Regions from separate parts of the Homo sapiens genome. Here regions 1, 2 and 3 are each linked to region 4. The links are contacts of gene promoters, found by promoter capture Hi-C in blood cells and fetal thymus (Javierre and others, 2016). All regions are on one chromosome and are shown on one strand. The core of a region is centred on a gene start or on the middle of the fragment in contact, and the rest is flanking DNA. Distances in the headings are between cores, read along the strand shown. Region 1 holds the start of BAG2 (BAG cochaperone 2). Region 2 holds the start of LMBRD1 (LMBR1 domain containing 1). Region 3 holds the start of SDHAF4 (succinate dehydrogenase complex assembly factor 4). Region 4 holds the start of PTP4A1 (protein tyrosine phosphatase 4A1).

Region 1 (3,566 bases), core at 673-3,172, 6.4 Mb after region 4:
GTTCTGAAGACATGGAGAGATGTGTGTTACTTGTTATGTGGCTCCCTAAAAAGAAACATTACCAGTTAGAGGGACTTCAAGTAACTGAGGCCACCAATTTCTACTTTCGCTCTACTTTTTCTGGGAGTGGAACGGTCAGGTTTGCCAGTATTGTGAAAATCCATGAGGAAGCATTACTTCTCTCTTCCACTTGCCTCATTCTGAGTGGAACCCCAGAACCTGGTGTAGGGCTTAATAATCCAAGAAATTATTTTGAGTGGAGAATCTCTCACTCTCTGGCTCTTTTCTCCCAATAGTAACAATAATAATGCCTCACTTGTTAAGAGATACCGTGGTTATTGAAGTATTTTCTCAGCAAACAGATACTTCATGTTTGGGTGTATTAATGTAGGAAGATAAAGACACACATGCAGTGTTTCCTAAACTTTTTGGCTCACATGCTTCTTTGCTCATGCACAACCTAGACAAAACTATGTAACCAACTCCTGTGTACAGTTTCACGGAATTGCAGGTGCCTAACAAGATTTTCTTTTAACTACACCTGCTCACAAAATTTACACAGTAACTTGAGACAAACGTTCACAGGAAGTAGATAAAACTTTTCAATACACCGTTAAAGTCTTTCCAAAAATCTATTAACATTAAATTGTTTAGAAATTCTATACAAGTCTACTACTGTATTACCAAATAAATTCTTAAGCAAGAAAAGGGGAAAACTATCTTTTCATGCTTTCAGGCCAGTAACTAGCACTTAGTCTTCTATGTAGGGAGGTGCCCAATAAATACCGAGAGACGAACGGAACCGCTGAATCCCGTCCGCGAGGTTAGGGGAGAAACAGAAGCGGCAACGTCTCTGCTGCACGAAGCACCCGGTAACTTACTGCCTACCCCTCACTCCTGTCTAATCTTTGCTCTCAATGGATTGCTGGGTTGGTTTTGTTTTATTCATTTTTGTTCTGAAGCAAGGAAACTTAACTTCACGTGGAGGGCCACTGTAAACTGCTGCCTCCCTTAAAAAATGCATAACGAGAAGAGTAAGTTAAAACGTTTGGGGCCACACAGAAGGTTCTAGAAGTTCTGCAGACCCAAGCTGCCACAGTCCTTAATCGCATGGAATCTCACTGTAACTTTTATCTCCTCTGATTTTTTTCCGCTCCCTAACACCTAGGTAAATTAATCAAAGTGTGGCCACCGATAACGCCCTCACAGGTTTAGCTTAAATCGAATGCGTTTTCTCTCGGACTAGGGGAGATAATCCAAGAAACAAACAAAACTACACCACGTCCATCCACAACAAATCTCAACAAGCAACTTCGGTTGCCGCAGCCTCACTGTGCCCCAGGCCCCGGCCCGCCACACGCGGCCTCCGTCCGCTAACCGCCCGCGAACCGCCCGCGCGGCGAGCAGAACGCCCGAGACCGCCCGCCCGGAGCTCACCTGAGCTCCAGCTGGTCCAGGCTCTCCAGCAGGCGGCTGGAGCGGTCAGCCATGGAGGAGGAGCGGCAGAAGCGCCCCTCGTTGGCTTTAGCGTTGATCTTCGCCTGAGCCATCTAAGCCTCCGACGCGGGGTAGCCAAGAGGTCACCGGCCCCTCCGGCGGCAGCGAGTGGAGCGCTCCTTGGGCTGCAGGCGTCGCCGTCACCACGCGGGCGCCCGCCCTCCCTCTGACGCCCGCGGGGGCAACCCGGGAGGACTCGCCGACACCGCGGCTGCAGCGTAGCCAAAGAAGGGCAGGCGCGGCGCCCGCGGGGCTCGGGGACGCCGGGCCTGGGAGGGGGCTGCAGCGGCTGGAGTTAGAGGTTCGCGAGCCACACGGGCTCGAGGATGGGCCGACAGGGGCTCGGGCCTGGGGAGCGCAAGTCTCTGAGGCACGGGAGGGGCGGACGCAGAGACCGAGCGCCTAATGTGGCTAGCGGATCGTCTGCTCCCCGGACCCAGGAACTACCCGAAGCCCGCGCGGACCCACAGACCACCCCCAGCTCCGCCCCGCGAGGCCCCGCCTCTTCATGCAACCTAAAAGTAACCAACTCCCCCCACGCGAAGGTTCCTATCGGTCGACGGGCTGTGGGTGTATTGCTCAGTGACGGCTTCGTTTAGTTTCTCCCAGCACCCATAATTCAAAGCAAGAACAACGACATTATGGGGAGAAAACGTCCTTTTGTGAAACAGAAGGCAGTAAGTACAGCTCGTAGGCAGCCCACACTCACCTGACCTTCCTGTTACCACTTTATACTGAGATGAGAGTAATGAAAGCCCGGACAACACTGAAGCTATGAAGTAAAAAAGAAAAAGCTACTCCATCTTTCCCTGTCTAGCTAGATGTGGGAAGCAAAGTGAATTTACTTCATTTTTACCATTCTAATTTTCTTTTGTTTTTGAGATGGGGTCTAACTGTCGCCCACGTTGGAGTGTAGTGGCGCGATCACGACTTACTGCAGCCTCGACCTCCCGGGTTCAAGCGGTCCTCCCACCTCAGCCTCCCAAAGTGCTGGGATTACAGATGTGAACCACCACGCCTGGCTTAATGAAGGGGTTTTAAATTTTTGCTATTAAAATTATTCCTGTTGAGCGAGCCGAGATCTCGCCACTGCACTCCAGCCTGGGCGATAGAGCGAGACCTTGTCTCAAAAAAATAAATAAATAAATAAATATTCTGAGTGAAATAATTGGCATTAAAAAGTCCTCAACTTTTAAAAATCCTGTTAACAAAAAAGATGCAGTAGGCCTCTAGGTCAGGCACCAGCTGTCGGTAAAAGACGGAATAGAGCTGAGGATACAAAGATTAGTCTACTTAAAAAGTTAGGCTTTAGTCCCCTCTCCTGATAGCTCTATGCCTCTCATTGCAAGGATGACAATGTACAGGGCACAGAAAATGATAGATAATAATAGTTTAAAGCTGAGCCACCACCTTTAATCAGAGATCAAAGCCATTTAAATACTTGAACAGAGTTGAAGCCCTTAAGGCTGGATCCCAATTCCCTCTGAACTCATTTTAAATCCTAATTAACTCTTGGGGTAGGGGATTATTTGACCTTATTAAAAATAACTTTATCATGACACAAACGAAAACAAAACACATTTTGTGAGTGGTTTGAAAGTCTATCAAGTGACTTTAGAATCATCCTGAACTCTTTTTCTCTCTTATCCTAGATCCACACCATTAGTAAACCCCATCAATTTTGCCTTCAGAATATATCCAGATTCTTCCCAATTCTACCGCCACCATTCTGGTTCAAGCTACCTGGTGAGTTTGCACCTGGAATACTACAATACCTTCCTCTCTGGTCTCCCTGCTTCTACTCTTGCCTCTCATGTACATGTTATCTCAGTGCAGCAACTACAGCAATCCTAAATAAGGCAGATCATACCATTTATTCTCAGAAACCTTCACTGGCTCCTTACCTCAAAGTAAAAGCCCAGGTCATTAGAAAAACCTCAGTAAGTTCATTTCCTATTACTCTCCTAGCTCATCCTGTCAGCCATACTAGTCTTCTTGCTTTTCCTTGAATATACTAAGCTCCTGTCTGGACCTTAACCTCCTCCACCTGGAACTCTCTTCCCGATATG
Region 2 (3,707 bases), core at 604-3,103, 6.2 Mb before region 4:
GGACACAGGAAGGGGAACATCACACACTGGGCCCTGTTGTAGGGTGGGGGAAAGTGGGGAGGGATAGCATTAGGAGATATACCTGATGTAAGACTAGTTAATGGGTGCAGCACCTCAACATGGCACATGTATGCATATGTAACAAATCTGCACGTTGTGCACATGTACCCTAGAACTTAAAGTATAATAATAATAATAATAATAATAATAATAATAATAAAAGAGTGTGCCTGGTTATGTCGTTATCTGGTTGGGTGCAGTCTCTATTGATTAGGTGAACATCTGGTCCCTTTTGGCATGATTCCTTTTGAAATGTAAACAGAATCTTTTTCTAAGAAGTAGTTACTTATGTCAAGGGTGCTCTATACAATCTGGAATAGAGATATCAACCTGGAAGCGATACCTCTCTTCACTTTAAGGAAGCTATGACAGAGGTCTCCAGGGATATGAATTATTAGGAAGAAAGAGTGAAATTCAAACATTTGCAGGTCTAGAGGGCTTAAAGCCAGCTTATGATGGTACCAGTTCAAGTTAAAACTGTATTCTCCCCTATTCCCTTCTTATTCTGTCCAGGCAGGAAGGACCATCCTATTTTTTCCCTCAGGCTTCCAGCCGGAAGTAGATTATAGGTAGAGCATAACTCATCACCACATAATACATTGGAAAAAGATGATGGTATTTTTTCTCAGAGTTGTTTCTTGACTACATCACAGTGGTGAAACATGCACTCACACCCCTGTGGACTCAGGTAAGCCATCCCAAGAGTTTCCTCCCTGTGGACTCAGGTAAGCCATCCCAAGAGTTTCCTCCTTCTTCTTCATTGTGGGCCTATGGCAGTGTGTTTTGTTTGCTGATGCATATACCTTTACATACAAAGCTATCATGGAAATTCACAGGCATGCATACATCTGAATAGAAAGGCTATAACATCATGTGATAAGTTCATGTCCAGCCAACCAGTTATCCCGGCTGGGCACCAGTGCCAGTAAATTAGAGTGATTTGGGCAGCTAGTCAACTTTTATTCAGAGTCAGCTGTCTCATGCGTCCGTGTGAAGAGACCACCAAACAGGCTTTGTGTGAGCAACATGGCTGTTTATTTCACATGGGTGCAGGCGGGCTGAGTCCGAAAAGAGAGTCGGCAAAGGGTGGTGGGATTATCATTGGTTCTTACAGTTTTTCGGATAGGAGGTGGAGTGAAGAGCAATGTTTTGGGGGTAGGGGGTAGATCTCACAAAGTACATTCTCAAGGGTGGGGAGAATTACAAAGAAACTTCTTAAGGGTGGGGGAGATTATAAAGAACATTGATCAGTTAGGGTGGGGCAGAAACAAATCACAATGGTGGAATGTCATCAGCTAAGCTATTTTCACTTCTGTGGATCTTCAGTTGCTTCAGGCCAGCTGGATGTATACGTGAAGGTCACTGGGGATATGATGGCTTAGCTTGGGCTCAGAGGCCTGACATCAGCCATTCTTGCAACCTGGTAAGGAGTTCTGCTAATCACACACATTCCACCTTGTACACGAGGGCCAAACTTCCTTTTGGTGAAGAAGTATAAACCTCTAAAATTGACTTGGATCTCCAGGTCCACCTAGCCCATTCTTTGTGGAGTTCCCTTGCTGTTCTAGTCTATCAACTTAGGCTGAGTCAAATATCTCAATAGGTTGCCCAGCTATGAGCCAACACCCTGCTCTGCAGCCCTCCCACATCTCAGCTTGCAGGGAAGCCAGCGAGGGCAGCGTGGTGATGTCACTGCGTCCGCACGCGCCCCGCCCCTGAGCAGTCCTTGCTGCCCCGCCCCCGCTCGGCTCGCCGCCAGGGGACGCTAGTGGGTCCAGTCTCCTTGGCAACCACTTGCTCCTCCCCCTCCGCCCCTTTAACCTTTAGGGTGCGCGGGTGCAGTATATCTCGCGCTCTCTCCCCTTTCCCCCTCCCCTTTCCCCACCCCGGGCGCTCAGGTTGGTCTGGACCGGAAGCGAAGATGGCGACTTCTGGCGCGGCCTCGGCGGAGCTGGTGATCGGCTGGTGCATATTCGGCCTCTTACTACTGGTAGGGGAGGCGCTTGGAGTTTTCCCCATGTTTGGACTGGGGGAGGAAGGGAGGGGCAGGCCCTGCAGTTGGCCTCTCCGGGCCCCGGAGACCCTCTTCGCCCCGCCCCGCTTTTAGCTTGGACTGTGGAGGGCTCCTTAGTGTTGGGGGCTTGGGCGGGCGGCGGGGGCAGGGGGGTGTCGATTTCCGGTCTCTTTTGCTGTCATTTCACCGATGACGTCTAGGGTTGCAGGGTCCTTTTTGGAAGCTCTTGCCGTCATCGCTGACTTGGGCAATGGGGCCGGTGGGGTTTGGGGGCGGAAGAGACCCTCGGGGTTGAGAAGTATGTGGTGGCCTTTCGTCCCCTGTAAAACATTGTCACACGGTGTGGGGCGGCAGCGCTGGATCTTTGCAAGTTAAGTAGGCGCTGGCGTTGTTTACTTGTCACCTTCTCTGTATGTTTTTTCCCTCATTTTCCCTACCCTTGGGGCTAGTGAGTCTCCAACCTCTGTGCCCATTGTGTGATTCTGCCTTGATGACGTGAGTTGCTCGTTCTGACTTCCAGGTGTCACATTCTCTTCTAATCTTTTTTTGATTGGTGTAGATACCTGTGGAGGGCGGAGCTGTAGCCCTCTTTATTACCAGTATCGGAGTATATACTACTACCTGTCTGACCTCAGGTGCTTTCTTTTCCAACGATCTTATTTCTGCATATTCAGTGAGCAAAGTGTAGATAGAAATGTCTCAGAGTGGCCTGGCTATTACTTCCCTGTTCATATTAAAACCCTTTGGTTTATTTGGGAGTTCAATTTATTTCCTTTCATAACTTCTCTACCTTCTCAAATCTTCTCTTTTCTCATCGTCCGAGGCTGTAGTTACTTTCTGTTCTCACGTATTTTGACCTTTTTGCATTGCAAAACAAAAACCTCCAGTTCTGGAAATCAGGCTTGTTTGGTTTTACTTTAATTGTCAGATCCAGTTGGTGTCTGGTACCTATGTAGTATGTTCTAGTAGATTTTTGCAGTAGAGACTAAAAAAAGAAAATAAAAGAAAAGAATGGTGTGAAAATTTAAGAAAAGGATCCTCTTGTTACTGCCATCACTGTCACAGATAAAAACACTGCCTTTACCCTGGAACATGTTAGTCCTCTCTTGGAGGAAATGAAACCCTAAAGGTTGACTGTGGTCTCTGCAGCCACCCAGTCCTGTATTTGGAGAGCCCCCTGGCTTTTCCAGTCCATCAGATTTAGTTTGTTTAGAAAAAAATAAATAAGCATGTAATGTATGAAAGTTACGTGAGACTATCTTGGCAGTTATAAATTAATAAACATTTACGGTACAGAAGTGGTGTGAATTGTAAGAGGATGTAAACCAAACAAAATACGGCTTTAAAGAGGGCCTGAAGATAAGTGAGAAAACTGAAATTCTTGAAACATGTATTTTATGGACCGAAAGCCAAAGTGTGACTATAAATAAAGCAGGACTTAAGAGAATAGACAACAATATTGGAAGAAAATGAGAATTGTGGTAGAGTTTGGATAGATGAAGAAGAGAGGCCATTTAAGTTGGCAATATTACAGCAAGGACAAATAAAATCAGAATTGAATGTTGTCGTGGATAAAAGCATTAGGAAGAAGGACTTTTGTTTAAATTTCTGCAAATCTCTTTAAATCCTGGTT
Region 3 (4,090 bases), core at 1,357-3,856, 7.0 Mb before region 4:
GTGGCAGCTCACGCCTGTAATCCCAACACTTCGGTAGGCCGAGGCTGATAGATCACCTGAGTTCATGGCAAAACCCTGTCTCTACCAAAAATACAAAAAATTATCTGGGTGTGGTGGTGGGCGCCTGTAATACCAGCTACTTGGGAGGCTGAGGCAGGAGAATCGTTTGAACTCAGGAGGCAGATGTTGCAGTGAGCTGAGATCTCGCCATTGCACTCCAGCCTGGGCAACAAGAGTGAAACTCCGTCTCAAAAACAAAGAAAGAAAAAAGAGGCCGGGTGCGGTGGCTCACGCCTGTAATCCCAGCACTTTGGGAGGCCGAGACGGGCGGATCACGAGGTCAGGAGATCGAGACCATCCTGGCTAACACGGTGAAACCCCGTCTCTACTAAAAATACAAAAATTAGCCGGGCGTGGTGGCGCGCGCCTGTAGTCCCAGCTACACGGGAGGCTGAGGCAGGAGAATGGCGTGAACCCAGGAGGCGGAGCTTGCAGTGAGTCGAGATCGCGCCACTGCACTCCAGCCCGGGCGACAGAGCGAAACTCCGCCTCAAAAAAAAAAAAAAAAAAAAAGAAAAAAGAAAGAGGTATTTCACAAAAAGTGAATATTTGAAAAGATGTTTTACTTCTTTAATCAGAGAAAAGCAAAATCACAATGAGGTGTCATTTCATTTCCCTGTAGGCAGCCAAAAATTAAAACCTAAGGCAAAATTAAGTTTCGGCAAGTTTGTGGAACAACAGAACTCCAATACACTGCTGGTAGAAGTGAAAATTGCTATAGAATTAGAAAATGCCGTTACACCTTGGCATTATATTGTAACAATGAAAAGACCTATAACATACTCCAGGAATTCTACTCCTTCCACTAATGCACAAATAAGGTACACAAGAATGTGTAGCACCCAATCCTAGTGTTTCTGGAATTACCCAAATGTCCTTTGAGAAGGGCACTGGAAAATGCATCATATGTTCACACAGTTGAATGAATAACTACAACCTCATGCGTCAATGTGACTCAATCACAAAACACAGCGTTATCTGAAAAAAAATCAACAATATGAAAACATTTCTATAAAGATTAAAAACACCATTGCACAGTTGTATCAGGAAGCAGCAAATAGAGACCTCCTTGGCAATAGAGACTATTTCTTAAATTGGAGTATAAGTTCATAGATGCTGGTTGTGCTTCATAGCTTACATGACTGCTACATAGCTTACATGTGTGCTACGTGTGTGTGTGTGTATACATATATATATATGGAATAATTCATAATTGTTTAAAACTAGTTAAAGGGGGATGTTGAATGAACCCTACAAAATTTTAACGTTATTACCTTGAGGTTTGGATAATGTAGGACTTTCACTTTCTGTATTATTCATTTCTGGACTATTTAAAACTTATACAATTAAGTAAAATGTTTGTATTTGGGTAAAATGATTGCACAAAGGAAAACAAATTGCATAGAAATCTGGCACCATTTGAGGGCAATAATTACTGTTTTCAACTTACATAACTTCTCCAGGTGTCATATATTAAAATTATGTTTTGCGGACCGGGCGCGGTGGCTCACGCCTGTAATCCCAGCACTTTGGGAGGCCGAGGCGAGCGGATCACAAGGTCAGGAGATCGAGACCATCCTGGCTAACACGGTGAAACCCCGTCTCTACTAAAAATACAAAAAATTAGTCAGGCACGGTGGCGGGCGCCTGTAGTCCCAGCTACTCAGGAGGCTGAGGCAGGAGAATGGCGTGAACCTGGGAGGCAGAGCTTGCAGTGAGCCGAGATTGCGCCACTGCACTCCAGCCTGAGGGACAGAGCGAGACTCCATCTCAAAATAAATAAACAAATAAATAAATAAATAAATAAAATTATGTTTTGCATAGTCTGGGCTGCTAACTGTATTATCTTGAGAAAAATTTCCAACAACAATGGGTTTAAAAATGTTGGTTTTACTGAAAGCATGAATGCTTTTTCTGTACTGACAATTCCTGGCTTCATCTAATTTACGTTATACTTATTTGCCTTTGGCTCACTTCTGCACTTTTCCCATTTTTAAAAGATAAACTGTAAACTGCCACAAATCCTTTTCTGCTGGAGCCTGGACCAGGAGCGCGGATTCCTGTAAATAATGATGTAAATAAATAAGTAAATCAATGACTCCCATTCCCAAAGGGCCTTCTTTTCCATTTTTCTCTGGGGCATCGAAGTGCGGTGTGCCCTGCGAGCTCCCACAGGAACAACCCGGAACGTTTGTGGTCCTGTTGGGCCACCGCGTGCTCGGTAGGAAGCGGACGTCCCGGGGGCTGAAAGGGCCTTAGCGATTTTCTCGCTCTAGTCCCACCCGAGACCCGGGGCGCTGCAGGAACCTGCCCAGGCCACCGGGTGGGCGGCTGGGCGGGAGAAGCTGGGCAGCCCCTGGCAACACCGAACGGCCAGGACACACGCGGCTTCCTCCGCGGGAGGCGCTTCTCTCTGCGCCTGGGCCTTCACGACCCCTCCCGCGACCGTGGCCCCGAGGCCAGGTGCTTACTTGCCGCTCTCCACGCCGTGGCCGAGACCCAGCTAAGCAACCAGGGAAGCCTCGATGGGGTCATGGCGCCGACTCCCCGAGCCTCCGCGCAGGCGCAAAGCAGTAGTGGGAGGAGCAGGGGGCATGATCCGGAGCCTCCCTGCAGAGGGCGGGGCCTCCGTGGCCGGCTTTAGAAAAGGAGTTAGAGGCATCCCTGGGCTCTTTGGCCAAGAGAGACCCAGGCTACCTTGAGCCCGGTGTTAAAACGCCAAATCGTGGCTGCAGTTAGAAGAGGGAATAATTCCGTTCCGTTCATGCTTGTCAGTCTGAGCCGAAATGGCCCGTGGAAGATCCCTTTTATAGTTTACAAAGATTGAGCACCTTTTACTCTCTCACTCATGTAAAATGCTTCTTTTACCTAATTCTCCCTGTTTTGTGTTTTAAATCTTTGTTCAGTCAGCTCCTAGTTCGTCCATTCTGACCGACTAACCAGATGATATGAAAGGCGACATTTTTGAATGAGGTGCAAAGCAAGAAAAGGCTCTCCATCCAGGCCAGGATCCAGTGCAATGAGCTCTGCCCCTTAACCCTTACATCCCACCAGCTCTGATAGCGTTGAGTGGATGTGGCAGACCTGGATGCTTTGTGCAACTCGTGGAAATATTTACAGAATCATAGTGAAGGCCCCCAGAATTCTGGAATTTTGTCTTTTCTTTTAAAGAAAAGTTTCTGGCTAGCTATTGCGCCTTGGTAGTGTCTGACCATGTGACATCAAGTGGTTATACGATCGAAGCTTCTTATCATGAACTGAGAATTATCTGGTTCTCCTAGATAAGGAGATCCTTTTACGAAGAGAAAGTGGGCCGGGCAAGGTGGCTCACTCCTGTAATCCGAACACTTTGGGAGGCCGAGGCGGGTAGATTACCTGAGGTCAGGAGTTCGAGACCAGCCTGGCCAACACTCTACTAAAAATACAAAAATTAGCCGGGCGAGGTGGCACATTCCTGTAATCCCAGCTACTTGGGAGGCTGAGGTAGAAGAATCGCTTGAACTCGGGAGGCGGAGATTGCAGTGAGCAGAGATCACGCCACTGCACGCCAGCCTTGGAGACAGAGCAAAACTCCATCTCAAAAACAGAAAAAGAAAAAAGAGAGAAAGTGGGATACACAGAACTGGGCCAAAGTCAAAACGGAAACAGTTTTCATTTGTAGGGAGCTCACAGTCCTAATATCATGCTTTTGACCTTTAGCTTATATCTACAGTTTAATAATGAATTCCTTGTGACTAGCTGACTGAGGAAAAAATTCAAAGTCGGATGATGGCTTTGCTCAATAAACTGGCCCAGCTGGCAACTGACTGCTTTTCATATTTAGAGCCCCACTTAACAGAGGCCCTGAAGGAACAGAACAGGGAAAAAAAATTATTTCCAGCATGCATAATTTAGCTTATTTATGTATTTTATGTTTTTACAGGCACATGTCACCACACCTGGCTGATTTTTCTATTTTTAGTAGAGACAGGGTTTCGCCATGTTGACCAGGCTGGTTTCAAACTCCTGGCCTCAAGGGATCCACCCCTCT
Region 4 (3,656 bases), core at 1,156-3,655:
GTAAAACATACAACTAGCATTAACAATCATTTATCAAAAGGTCCCATAAAAAAGGTAACTTTCATTATCACAAGTTTGTTCAAACAAGCCCTCAGAGGTTACTTCACCTAGTTGGTCAGCTGGGTTAAAAAATTAAGTGTCTAAATTACAAAGCCATCACAGTTACAGTGAATACAGATTGTAGTAATCTGAAAATAATTTCATTATACTTTCACCCCAAATTCTAAATACAACCTCCGTAGAATAAAAAGTGTATTCTGACACTTTCCCAATGACATACAATGATCTTTAAAAGCTTTATAATGACTCATCACAGTATTCTAATTTCTAGGTATTACCTTTTTTTCAATTAAAAGCTAATTTGAGGCAGTATTTCACACCACTATTTCCATATTTAATAGCTAAAACTCCTGTCGGCTACAACCTAGTCTGGCCATATCCCTTCATGTAAGTAAGCACTTTCATCAGGAAGCAGAGAAAGAACTATATTAAGAATTCCCTTCCTGAAATGGTTATTTTTACTGAGTGGAGCCACCTAGTGGATGGGGGGACTCGTCTGTTAAAGCAGTGGTGGCCACCGATAGATTTCTGTTCCGCCCAAGACACTCCTCCATTCCCAATCTCCTACCCACAGGAAAAACTATCCATAATGGGGATTTTTTCCCTCCCACCTATCAGTTGCATTATAATCACAATCATATACAAGAAGGGAGAGGAGGAAAGAGTAATCTCTGTGCAGAAGCTTAAATCATTATTATACTGCAGAGTCAAGCCAATTAATGTGTGTAACTCCTTTGTCACAAACAATTCGTTGTATAGTCTGTTCCACATCTATTTAGGTCTTAGGGCACCTAAGAAAGCATGTGTAAAATGCTGCTCACTCTTGGGAATGATTTAGTTTTCTAGTTTTCAACTGACTGAGTAACAGGAAGCACTGCCTCAGGATCTAGATGTCGGGCAGGTCAACAGTTCCAATCGTAGTGTAAATAACTTAATACTCGTGGACTGGTAGGGGGCTCCGCGGACAGAAGATAAAAAACCCTCAGAATTCCGTCTCTGGTTGGCTACTGCTGCCACAAACCAACAGGAGGCAACAACATATTACACCACAGAGCTCAGGGATAGTTCTAAACAGTCCCCGATTAAAAGGCGCCATCCAGGGCCCTTCCAAAATTGGCAGGGGAAATGTATGCTGGTGCCCGGACGGGAAGTCCTTCGCGTCAGTGTAACTAACAGTAGCCCTGTCAGTTTCCAAGACGCTCCGAACCAGGCCATTTCTCGACGACTGGCCCAGAGAAAGGACAAGACTAGACTTGTTCCCATTATCACGAGCCCGAGGTGGGGCGATAAATCCGGAACAGCTCGAATTACCAGGTGGAGCCTGGGAGGAGGGCGGGGCGGACGGCCGAAGTTCTCACCTAGCAGAACCCCACTCTGGCCCGGGCAGGGGTGCAGCTCGCGGAATGCCCCAGAGGGCCGCCGCCCCGCGCACGCGGCTGTGTGCGCCCGAGCACGCCCGCTGCGCCCCCTCTCCGCGCCGCAATCACGGGTTCGCGCCGCGCCTTCAGTCAGGCGCGGGCGCCGAGGCCATTTTGTCTGAGGCTCGGGTCCCGGCCGTCGAGCACAAGAGTGTAGCTGCACCCAGTGGCTGTCCCGCGCCCACCCCGGAGCTCCGAGAAGCTCTGGAACCAGATCGTTACCACCCGTGCCTGGCTGTCCGGCCTACCCCACGCCCGCCCGGATCTGGAGGCGAACCCGCCACCGCCGCGCCCTCCCCGTATCCGGCTCCGCAGTGACACGCGCAGCCCTCGCCCCACCCCGGGCCACGTCTCCCGCTCCCAGTGCAGCCACTCTCCTCCGGCCGAACAAAGAGGCCCCGGGACGCCGCGGAGCCTGCCATGCCCGGACGGGTCGCGCCAGACCAAAGGGCCAAGGGCGGAGGCGGCGGTCACAAAGCGGCTTTTGTGCCACCCACCCGGCCCGCTGCGGAAGCCGAAACTGCCCCCGGCCGCCGCAGAAGCCGGACCGCGCCGCCCCCGTCGCTCCGGGCTCGGGAGGGACTCAAAAGCCGGTGCCTCCGGCGGCCAACCGCCACCCCGCAGCCCCGAGGGGCCCGGCATCTGCCTCCGCACAGCCGGCCGCAATCGGCCGGCCACAGGGCCATAACCCGCCCGCTCCCACCCGGGACCCACCGGAACCGCAACCCGGGGCAACCTGGAGGAGACGCCGGGCTCCGAACAAAGGCGACAGCGGGGATGGGGGGCCGGTCGTGGATTCCCAGCCCGAGAGGCGACGATGCGACGGCTACTCACAGGAATATGTTTACTCATTGAAGATTGTGGCCTAATCATACAGCCGGTCCCGAGGCGGCGGCGACACAGGCGGTGGCGGTGGCTGCAGGGCAGGAGGCGGCGGTGGTCGTGGCGGAGCGGCGGTGGCGGCGATGCAGGCGGCGGCGGGGGCACCAGACTCTACCATGCAGTGAGCGGCTCGGAGCAGAGCGCGTAGCCGAGCCGGCCCGCAGCCGAAGGAGCCAATACACGCGCCGAGGCGCCCTTGCGTCACAAGCCCTCCCCTTTATAGCCGGCGCGACGTGCAACCCTCCAGCCACCAATCGCGGCCTGGAACCGCGGGCCAGGAGCCGACAGGCGGGGGCGGAGGCCCGCCCCCTCCGGACGTCACTCCGCGGCGGCCGCCGCCGGTGTGAACCGGTTGATGAATGGCTAAGCGCCGAGTCGGAGCATCCCCGGGGCGGGGGAGGGAAGGGGCTGCCGGGAGTGCTCCGGGATGCAGGAAGCCTGAAGTTAAGAAGGGGTGGGAGCGAGAGAGATTCCGATTTATCGACTGGAAGGAATCATGCTGCAAACCACGTTTCTCATAATTAAAACGGTCCAGGAGTGCACACATGTCACATGAGGAGACTCGAAGTTTGCCTGAATCGTAAAATGCAATCCTTCTAGGGCTGGAACCGCGTCTCAGTGTCGAGCCTGCTTTCTACTGCCTTAACCACGGTCATCTTTGCCAGTGGTTTACCTTGGCACCTGGGCCCCGAGTACCTTCGTCATCAAATAATATTTATGTCGCAAGACCGCTGTACCCGGTGACTCAACACCTTGCATGCCACGGCCTTAGGCTTGGTCAAGATGAATTCTTGTCCCTGGGGGCGCTTTCAAGCGGGGAGAAACTTACCTTCGCAAAACTTAAGGCTATAGAAGATGGGGAGAGTATCTTTTGATGCAGACGAAGCCCTATGCTCCCTATATTCTTTTTTTGATCACACCTCTCTATACTACGTACGCGTGCAACTGCAGTTGGCTCAATTGTGGCATTTCGAAATCACATGCATCCTTTGTACTGCTGCTCACTTGATATGTTGTCTCAGATAATGAAAGGTTAGGAAGTGCTTAAAGAAAGCGTTTTTAGAAATTAAGAATCCTCGGTTTTGTCAAGCACTGATGTAATTCTTTGCGTCAAAGCTAAAGCTCTTCTTTATGTTCGTTTTCAGTCCTCTTTTACTGACTTCATTATTTAAGCCCCTAAGAAGTAAAGTCTTATCGCAATTCTGTGCCATACAAGGGCACCTCTGTTATTTATAATCTGAAAACCCTTTCTCCTCAGCTCTGGAGAAGGACCAAACAGGACCTTTACCTGCTTTT

The links. The method cuts DNA at HindIII sites, captures the fragments that hold promoters and counts their contacts. A CHiCAGO score of 5 or more calls a contact.
Region 1: a contact is called between the fragment with the promoter of BAG2 here and a fragment that was not itself captured in region 4, in 2 of 17 cell types (naive CD8 T cells and total CD8 T cells). The highest score is 7.0, in naive CD8 T cells.
Region 2: the fragment with the promoter of LMBRD1 here is called in contact with a fragment that was not itself captured in region 4 in 1 of 17 cell types (non-activated CD4 T cells); the score reaches 5.4 in non-activated CD4 T cells.
Region 3: the fragment with the promoter of SDHAF4 here is called in contact with a fragment that was not itself captured in region 4 in 1 of 17 cell types (total CD8 T cells); the score reaches 5.7 in total CD8 T cells.

What each region holds. Positions count from the first base shown.
Region 1 is chr6:57,170,682-57,174,247 of GRCh38, reverse strand. It overlaps BAG2 (BAG cochaperone 2), which reads right to left and starts at 1,922. Exons shown (of 3, transcript NM_004282.4): 1 at 1,438-1,922. The coding sequence starts at 1,550. It overlaps ZNF451-AS1 (ZNF451 regulatory antisense RNA 1), which reads left to right and starts at 2,035. Exons shown (of 4, transcript NR_110742.1): 1 at 2,035-2,174; 2 at 3,150-3,243. RefSeq lists an enhancer at 1,018-1,775 and silencers at 1,510-1,779, 1,830-1,909. The HindIII fragment of the contact is 6,211 bases long and covers 1-3,566 here.
Region 2 is chr6:69,795,156-69,798,862 of GRCh38, reverse strand. LMBRD1 (LMBR1 domain containing 1) reads left to right here and starts at 1,853. Exons shown (of 16, transcript NM_018368.4): 1 at 1,853-2,050. The coding sequence starts at 1,982. RefSeq lists enhancers at 1,932-2,161, 1,790-2,345, 2,472-2,521, 2,346-2,902. The HindIII fragment of the contact is 19,066 bases long and covers 1-3,707 here.
Region 3 is chr6:70,565,446-70,569,535 of GRCh38, reverse strand. SDHAF4 (succinate dehydrogenase complex assembly factor 4) reads right to left here and starts at 2,606. Exons shown (of 3, transcript NM_145267.3): 1 at 2,532-2,606. The coding sequence starts at 2,595. RefSeq lists a silencer at 2,259-2,318. The HindIII fragment of the contact is 5,796 bases long and covers 1-3,305 here.
Region 4 is chr6:63,571,376-63,575,031 of GRCh38, reverse strand. It overlaps PTP4A1 (protein tyrosine phosphatase 4A1), which reads right to left and starts at 2,552. Exons shown (of 6, transcript NM_003463.5): 1 at 2,313-2,552. It overlaps LOC124901228 (translation initiation factor IF-2-like), which reads left to right and starts at 1,464. Exons shown (of 2, transcript XM_047419610.1): 1 at 1,464-1,500; 2 at 1,602-3,656. The coding sequence starts at 1,464. The coding sequence ends at 2,347. LOC128125822 reads right to left here and starts at 2,552. Exons shown (of 2, transcript NM_001415059.2): 1 at 2,313-2,552. The coding sequence starts at 2,351. It also overlaps a transcript of LGSN not described here. RefSeq lists enhancers at 621-1,356, 1,051-1,420, 1,357-2,092, 2,474-2,768, 2,093-2,828 and 1 more and silencers at 1,961-2,090, 2,391-2,810. The HindIII fragment of the contact is 3,322 bases long and covers 745-3,656 here.